2 separate regions of the Homo sapiens genome follow, and region 2 is linked to region 1. Evidence: promoter capture Hi-C in human tissues and cell types (Jung and others, 2019). All regions are on one chromosome and are shown on one strand. Each heading gives the region's core, a stretch centred on a gene start or on the middle of the fragment in contact. The rest is flanking DNA. Distances are from core to core; before and after follow the strand shown.

The links. Contacts are between HindIII fragments. The study calls those that stand out against the background at their distance.
Region 2: a fragment that was not itself captured here is called in contact with the fragment with the promoter of FRMPD1 in region 1 in 1 of the 25 tissues and cell types used here (dorsolateral prefrontal cortex).

The regions. Positions count from the first base shown.
Region 1 is chr9:37,648,654-37,653,367 of GRCh38, reverse strand. It overlaps FRMPD1 (FERM and PDZ domain containing 1), which reads right to left and starts at 2,414. Exons shown (of 16, transcript NM_014907.3): 1 at 2,274-2,414. RefSeq lists a silencer at 2,273-2,542. The HindIII fragment of the contact is 8,171 bases long and covers 1-4,714 here.
Region 2 is chr9:38,759,629-38,764,342 of GRCh38, reverse strand. No RefSeq gene overlaps it. Among named protein-coding and RNA genes, the nearest start is that of FAM240B, 42 kb to the right of the region's middle. The HindIII fragment of the contact is 5,818 bases long and covers 1-4,714 here.

The DNA of each region.
Region 1 (4,714 bases), core at 1,165-3,664:
TATTTACTCCAATGGTGCCTTCAAACACTTATTCAGCTTGCCCATGAACCCTCTGATAAAAAGAATTGACTTTTATCCAACACCTATTACATGCAAACATCCTATTAGACACTGTTATACATGATCTCATTTAATCTTGTGAGTTTGGAATTATTATTATTCCCGTTTTACGAATTAAAAAAGTGACGCTCGGAGGCCCAATACTCCACAGCCAGCGAGGATTCCAGCCCAGGTTCAGAGCCTCCAGAGCCTCTTCCCGCTGCCCTGTCTCTGAAGTGCTCTGCCTTCTCTGTGCTTCCACCAGGCTCACTGCTCTCATCTGTCTCATGCTCTCCCAGCTCTCACCAGTTCCTTGCTCGTACCAGCTCCTTGACCTACACATAGCCTTTCTATTCCTCACCACCTGTTGAAATCCTCTTCTTCCTCCACCTTCCATTGTAAAGCCTTCTCCAATATCTCCACTTGGAATTCACCCTCCTTAGTGTTCACAGGAATCCCAGGCGATAAAGCCCACAATGAAGATCCTGTGGCACAAGCCTCTCTATTCCCCAACAGAACCTAAGCTCCTTGAGGGTAGGGCCTGTTGGTAATTTTCATGTTTGTGTCCTCTCGAATGAGTAGTGAGAAAGTGCTTGATGAACCAATAGAGAATGAAGAGGGAAAAGACTGGTGGCATTTGAATGCGTCAGAGAGATAAAAGGCTCTGGACAAATTAGCTTCAAGGATGGGGTCTCATTCAGGAAAGACAAACTTAGGTACCACAACTCTGCTCTGGTCACCAAGCACACCCTCACCAGCTCTCTGATTTCATAATGCTAGAAACTTAAAACCAGGATGTCGAGGAAGGAAATAAAATCATAAAATCACTTCTGTGAGAATCCTTTCGTGGTAATGCGTTTCACCCACACACTGGGGAGCCACTAATTGCAGCACAAGGGGAACAAGATATTGGGCAAAAGAATAAATTTCACTTTCTAGCATATCACAGTTAACTACCTCGTGCTTGTTTTGCTGTGACTGTGCCAGAATGCACCAGTCCTGGAAAAGATGAACTTGGCTCCTTAACCGTACCCATACTCAACACCGACCAAAGGATGCCCGAAATTGTCTTGATTGGAAATCATCTCAACCATCATCTTAGACTAGAAACAAGTAGATGCTGGCCTCTAGGTCAGGACCCCTAGAACAGTGCATTATTTTTTTTTCCCAAACAACCATTCTGAGGTTTTTACAAAAATAACCGACTCACAAACAGAAACGCTTCCTGATCTATAAGCCACTTTGAAAACAAATCATTATGTCGTTGAATATTTCATGACGGTCCAAAGCACTGAAGAAGGCGAACTGAGCGTTCACCAATCCTCCCCATGTCTATTTTGGGACTTCCAAAGCAAACTGCAAATGCCTCCTTTATTTTCTAAACGTTCATTTGCAAGTGCTAGATGGATTCTTGGTGAAATATTGCCTCCACCCAAACTGACTAAATGCAGAGATCCGGAGGTTCCGCTTCTCCAGAGTTTACAGCTGAAAGAGACAGCGAACAACTAGTGAACACGACTTCCACCCTATTTTATAGGTGGCAAAAGCAGGGGGCACTTGCCCAAGGTCACACAGACAGTGGGTGTATGGCAGAGGAGCCACCAGAAGCCAGAGTCCTGACTCCTAACCCTAGGGGCATCCCCTGCTTCCCGAGGCTGACTCAACGCCCCCACTAAAGCTCAGTCAAAGCTGCTGCAAGTTAGCGACGCGACCCTGGAGACTGACTTCTGTGGCTCATTCCTCTCCACACGCAATGAGTTCTGGAGCTGAGACACTCAGGGATGCCCCTCTACTCAAAAAATGACAACACAGGCATTGGCACTGCAGCTGATCGTCCCTGGCGAACCCCTTCTGGTTCAGGTGTGGCCATCGAGGACGGACAGAGAGGGTTGGTCTGAGGTCACTCAGAAAGTTGGCGCTGGCCGCGGCCGCACCTGAACCCAGGTCTCTCCCCCTCCCGCGTTGCCGCTGTTTCCACTCACTACACCATGCAGATCTCGGAAACTTAAGCACACATCGCTACTGTGCAAACAGTTCACGATGGCAGGTCCTGAGCTAGCCCACGGACGCGCCCCCGAGCCGGGCTTGGGGACACGAGGACCGGAGGCGGGCGCGGGTCACCCGGGACTGGTGGTGCAGGCGGAGGGCGGCGCGGAGGAAGCCGAGGCGCAGGCCCGGGGTGTGGGGACAGGCCGTCTCCCCAAAACTTTGCGGTGCCAGGACCCCTCCCTTACCTGCAGAGGAGGTGCCGCCCGCGCGGACAAGGACCTAGCGGGCTGACGCTCTCGGAGAAGGGCGGCCCCGCCCAGCGGCGGGCACGGTCGCGGCCAAGGCTCGGGAAGCAGCGCTGCTCGGGCTCGGCTCGGGCTCCGCCTCCCGCGCCGAGGCTGCAGCCGGAGGGGTTGGCCGGGCCGGGCCGCGCCCGCGCCGTCTGGCGGCGGCAGGTGCTGAGGCTGCAGCTGCGCGGCCGCCAGCTGCCGGCGCCGCGACCCCCGCCCCGGGGGAGGAGCCCCGCGCGCCGCCTCCGCTGGCTCCGAGGTCCCGGCCCGCCGCAGTGGGCGGTCCCGCTCCCACCCGGGCCCTGCCTCCGCCGCCTGCCTCAGCTCACCGCCGGGGCACGCAGCGTCCGCTGAGTACCCAGGGGGGAGACTGAGGCTGGGAGAGGAAAGGGACTCCCCAAGGTCACCCGGACCAGCGGTGGTTGGGCCAGAACTGGAACCCAGAAGAGTTCCCAAAACGACCCCCTTCTCACGCCTCCTTTTCCCCAGGAAGAGCCCCAGCTACGGGGAGCCCTGGGGGACTCGCCCCCTGACCCCCACGCCCCGCAGGTGTTCGGCTGAAGGGAGAGGGAGAGCGTGGGCCCACGGTAGGCACTGTGGACCACCTCCCCTGTCTCTGTAAACTCCTTCCGCGCTGGGAAACTGTGTTCTCCTAGCTTTCCTCGGCCCTCTCCAGCCACTCCCTCGGTCTCCTTGAGGGTTCCTCAAACCAGAAGCTCTAAAATGCCGGAGCGCCCTGGGACTCTGCACTCAGCCCTTTTCTGACCCCCTGAGCCGTCTCACCCACTCCCCTGGTTCTGGTCCTACCGCCTCTCTGAGCATGATACCCAAATGCATGTGTCTGTGCACTATTTTCCGTGCTGAACTCTACTGAACACCTACGAGGTCCATATCCTGCATTAGACACTGGAGATACAATACACCTTTAATAAAGCAGTCCCTGTCCTCATGGAATGTACAGTCTAGGACTATTAAAATACAGTCCAGTTCCTGTAACAATAACCCAATCCCACGGGGCCAAGGGCACCACTCAGGCCTGCACTGACTGAGTGAAGGCCTCCTGGAGAGGGCATGCTCTAAATGGAAACCTGAAAGGCCAGTGGAATTGGCCAGTGAAAGGGAGGAGTGTGGAGAGAGCCTTTCAGGTTGAGACCACAGGAACAAAGACCCCAAGATGAGAGAGATCCCACAGAGGGAGTGGCAGGAGTTGAGACATAAAGCAGGGGAGTCAGCAGGGGCCAATTCCTGGTCAAGGAGTTTGCACCGTGTTCCCAGTGCACTGGCAGGTTCATGGGAGGAGTTCTGAGTAGGGTTGAGGCACCATCAGACTGGGATGTTAGATCATTCTGGGGATGGTGCACAGGCAGATGTTAACAAGTGCATCCTTCATCCAAGGGCGGTGGGGGAAGACTAGCAGCACTTTGGAGCCAACATCGTCTGGATGAAGGCAGGTGCTCCTCCTTTGTGACCTTCATTTCCAAATCCAGGAGTCCATCCAGAAACTCCTGAGTGGCTCCATCGCTGAAAGACCTCCTACGTAATTGCACCCAAAGCTCCCTTTTCTGTCAGTGCCCCAGCCCTCTGCCACCCAGATCCACGGGCTGAGTGAGCCTTTTGCTTTCCTCACCCGTCTTTGTAGTATACAAAGTTCTGCCCCAGGAGACAGAAGCACCATAAGGGTGGAAGATTCTGAAGCCATAGTGGAAATAATGAAAGCTTTTTAAAAATCAAGTATTCTGGCTCTCTGAATTATTTCTTAACAATTGCATGTGAATCTACAATTTTCTCAAAATAAAGTTTAATTTTAAAAATTATTTTGTAGATAAAGATTAATCATCAAATTACTCTCTCCAAGGCAGTTAAACACCAAAAAGCATAGCACTTGTCAGAAAGTAAGATAAGAACTATTCTCTTGTCCGGTGAGTACAAATGTTCCCCATGGAATTTTGCCCTGTCCCCCTCCATTTCCTAGCTACCTGCGTCAGTGTCAGCCTCTCTAGGTGCCGGACCCAGCCCCTAACCCCGCTCTCCTCAGATTCTCATTCTGGTCCCTCTTGCCCCTCAGCCTCCTTTACCATTGCCCTCATGTCCCTCCTTGGCCTTTCTCCCTTCACTCTCACCAGGCAATTCTATCAGCTGCATGGTTTCAGCCAAACCTTCTGTCTTCCAAACCCAGAGACACAACTGCCTGCTGGACATCGCCTAAATGTCCCTCAGGTGCCCCACTCTCAACACAGCCAAAACCAAACCCACATCTTACCCCCAAATTACCCCTTTTGCATTGCTTCCCTATCTCAACTGGTAGTGGCACTTCCTTCCTCTGGGCACCTAAACTAGAAACCAAAGGGACAGTCTAGACTCTTCCTTCTTCCTGGCCTTCATACTCTACTGGACAC
Region 2 (4,714 bases), core at 1,592-4,091, 1.1 Mb before region 1:
AAGTGCCACACTTTTAAACCATCAGATCTCATGAGAACTAACTCACTGTCACAAGAACAGCAAGGGGGAAATCTGCCTCCATGATCCAATCACCTCCCACCAGGCCCCTCCTCTGACACATGGGGATTACAATTCGGCATGAGATTTGGGTGGGGACACAGAAACAAACCATATTTCACTGGGAACCCAGTATGGTTTTCAACGATGCTTAGCTGACTTGTTTTCGTCCCATCTCAGTACACCTCCTACCTCTCCACACGCATGGTGATGAAAAAAAATTTTAACTAGAAAATTTTCATGTTGGCAAATGTCTGAAAAATCACCTACTCTGGGTCTACCTTTTACAAATGAGGAACCTCAGATTCAGACATCTGTATCTGCAGAATCTGGACATGTTGTTCAAGTAACTACGTGTAATTTAGAAATGTCTGGGGACTAGTTTATAAAGTATGCTAGGCCGGGCACAGCGGCTCACGCCTATAATCCCAGCACTTTGGGAGGCCGAGGTGGGTGGATCACAAGGTCAGGAGTTCGAGACCAGCCTGGCCAACATGGTGAAACCCCCACCTCCACTAAAAATACAAAAATTAGCCGGGTGCCTGCAATCCCAGCTACTCAGGAGGCTGAGGCAAGAGAATCACTTGAACCTGGGAGGCGGAGGTTGCAGTGAGCCGAGATCACACCACTGCACTCCAGCCTGGCTATAGAGCAAGACTCCATCTCGGAAAAAAAAAAAAAAAAAAAAGGGCCAGGCACAGTGGCTCATGCCTGTAATCCCAGCACTTCGGGAGGCCAAGACAGCTGGATCATGAGGTCAGGAGATCGAGACCATCCTGGCTAACACAGTGAAACCCCATCTCTACTAAAAATACAAAAAAATTAGCTGGACATGGTGGTGGGCGCCTGTAGTCCCAGCTACTCGGGAGGCTGAAGAAGGAGAATGGCATGAACCCGGGAGGCGGAGCTTGCAGTGAGCCGCGATCACGCCACTGCACTCCAGCCTGGGCGACAGAGCCAGACTCCATCTCAAAAAAAAAAATAAATAAATAAATAAATAATAAAAATAAATAAATAAATAAATTTTTTTTAAAAAGTGAAAGTGAGGCATTTATTGCAGGGGCCAAGCAAGGAGAATTGGGCAGGTCATGTTTAAGACCTGAACTCCCCAATGGCTTAAAATAAGGGCTTTTAAAGATAGGGAGGCAGAAGTTACAGACGAAGTCGTAAATCAATACATGAAGTCTCTACATTGGTTTGGACCCCAAAAGCCAAGTCATCTTCAAGCAGGTGGTGGGAGGGCCACAGGTCATAAGTGGATGCAAAGATGTTCTCCTCTGTGGATGGTTAACAGGTGACGCTTTGTCTAAAACTCTGGGGTCAGTAGAAAAGAATGTTAGCTCTGGCCACCAGGCCCCTCAGGAAAAAATTTATAACAAAGAAGAGTCAGAGTTCAGTCCCCAGTTCCCTCTTATCTGAGGTCCAAGAGCCATGGATGGCCTTTTTCATTTGGTGGGGTCCAGGTTTCTGAAAAACTACTCAGGGACACAGGTTAAGATGTTTTCTTTAGTTTCTGTAAGGCACCAAACATTTTGTGGCTGTAACTTCCTTGGGTATTGTTTGAAGCCACTATTACTTTCTTGCTTACCAAGTTGCTCATCTACTCCTCAGGACTAGCTGGGTGCCTCAACTTTCCCTTGAAGGAACTCAAGAATTTCCTTCATTTCCATGCTTGGGGGACCCGGCAGACCCCAAGAGGGATCCCTGCTCTGTCTCAAATGACAGAAAGTCTTCAAATTTTGTACGTCAAAATGACAATTAGCTAAAGTGAACTTGACAAGGGCTTCATATATCGAAACAGTATTTTCAAAAATAAAATAGACCAAAAACAGCAACAACAATTTTAAAAGATCACATCTTTCTATATTAGAAGCAGGTAATGTTAGATTCTGAGACAGGGCAAGGGCTAGTTACTATTTCGTTAGGCAAGAGGGCCGACAGCTCTGTGGCTGAAGCACATTGGAATGAAGGCCCCAGCCCCACCCAGCCCCTCTCTGGAGACAGCCGGGCAGCTCTTTGCACAGTGTCTGCCAAACAGCACATCAGTGTACGGCTCACCACGAAAAGATGCCAGGCAGGTCCAGCGGGGAGATTGAAAGTGGGGTTTTGGCAGCTTCAGAATTCTCGTTGTTTCAAACAGCCTAATAGATGTGCAAATTGAATTGAATCTCTCCGATGGGTCTGTGTCTGCAGAGAATCTGCAAGCTCTAAAAGGGGATTAAATTATATCAGTCAGAACTAGCTACTTATCTAATATGTTGGTTTTTAGTGGCAGTGGGTCCATGGCCAAATAAAATGGCACACTTGTTTTTTTTTGAAGGTGTTACAATTAATTGCCAGCAATAGAGCCTTTTTAAAAAAGTGAGACTTCTGAGACTTCTGGTTTTAGCTGCAACATGTAAGGAATTTAAAAGTTGTCACTACTGCCCTTACAATAAGAAAAAAGCTGAGAAAAATAGAAATTAATTACTTTTCTTGGACTTATCAGAGAATTGAGGTCACAGAGAGTGACCATAACCCCAGAATCTGGAGAGACAGACAAAATCACAGCTGAGATCAGCTTCCCGAGAGCAGAGGCTACTGGAGCCATAAACTAGCAGGAATACTAAAACGGTAATTGTGATGAATTGCTGTTGGCTGATTGTGGACCAGAGTGTGGGGAAGAAAACCCTGAAGGCTACAACATTGAGACGACCTCACTGCTTCTGTGGGTGTTACCTCCAGAAACCCCACCAGGTTCTCACAGTAAAAAGCAAAGAAACATCACTTCCTGCCTCTGTCAGTGGGAGGGAAAAAGTAGTGGCTTTGAAATATGCCCAGAGCATTTTCCATAACAAAAGCCTAGTCTCCAGGAGAAAAGATGTCACCAGAGCCTTATCTCACCTAGGAGGAAGGGCATTTCCCCCACTTGAGCCCCCTTTAGATTTCCTGTCTCATCAAGAGTGAGGGGTTGGAGTGGGGGACACACAAAACTTGTGAAGATCACATCCAGGGTCAGGAGTTACATAAAACTAAGATTTGATCCTCAGATTATAAACACTTACCCTCACTTTCTCTCCCCTATACCTTATCATTAATCAACAGGGCTCCATCACAATAATAGTGGAAAACAGCTGAAAAGGCCACAAAGCACAATTCTTACGAAAAACTAAAGACAATAGGAGAGAAAAACAAGGACACCAGAGAAATCTGAAGCCTTAGCTACAGCTACAGCAGGCACTAAACTCAGCCGGCTTTCAGCCAGATTAATAGAAAACCTCACACTACAGGCCTCTTTCCTTCGGTTCCTTTTGTCCAATATATCAAATGTGGCTTTCAACAAAAAATTATAGGGCTACTAGAAGTTAAGAAAAAACAGTCTGAAGAGACAAAGCAAGCATCGGAAGCAGACTCAGATATGACACAGGTTTTGGAATTATTAGACAGGGAATTTAAAATAATAGGCTCTGATGATAAAAGTAGACAACATGCAAGAAAAGATGGGTAATGTAATCACAGAGATGGAAAATCTAAGAAACAATCAAAAAGGAAATTATAGAAATAAAATAACCACTAATCGAAGTGAAACTGCCTTTGATGGGCTCATCAATAGACTAGATGTGGCCAAGGATAGAATCAGAAATCTTGAAGACATGTCAATAAAAACTCCCCAAACTAAAATGAAGAGAAGAAAAGAATGAAAAACACAAACAGAAAATAATATTCAGCAACCGTGAGAAGATTCCAAATGGTATAACCTAGCATAATTAAAATAATGGAGAAAAAAGATAGATCATTTTCCAAAATTAATGACAGACACCAAATCACAGATCTGGGAAGCTTAGAGAATACCAAGCAGGATTTAAAAAAAAAAAAAAACCTATGCCTAGGTATATCATGTTCAAACTTCAGAAAACCAAAACAAAGAGAAAATATTGAAAGATGCCAGAGGAAAAACACCTGACTCATAGAAGTACAAGGATAATAATTACAGTGAACTTCTGGCCAGAAATATGGGAGTAAGAGAAGAGTGGAAGTGAAATATTAAGGTAAAGTAAAAATAAAGAGGTGGAGAAAGATATACCATGATAACACTAATCAAAAGACAACTGGAGTAGCTGTATTAATTTCAGACAAAGCAGTCTTTAGAGAAAGGAAAATTATCAGGTTTAAAGATGAACATTGCAAAATGATAAATGATTCAGTTCTCTAAGAAGGCATAACAATGCTTAATATGTATGCACTTCACAACAAAGTACAAAATACAGGAGTCAAAACATGATAGAACTGCAAGAAGAAACAGGCAAGTCCACTATTAGAGTTAAAGGTTTCAACACCCCTCATTCCGTAATTGATAGATTCAGCAGACAGAAAATCAATAAGAATATAGTTGACCTGAATAATATTATCAATAAATTTGACCCAATTGACATTTATAAAATAATCTCTTCAATAACAGCAAAATACACAATCTTTTCAAGCTTACATGGGACATTCACCAAGACCATTGTCTATAAAACAGACCTCAACAAGTTTAAGAGGCCAGAAATCATACAAAGTATTTTCTCAGGCCATGATGACATGTAACTAGAAATCAATAACAGAAAAAGAGCTGGAATCCTCAAATATTTAGAGATTAAACAGCACACTTCTAAATAACACAAAGATCAAAGAAGAA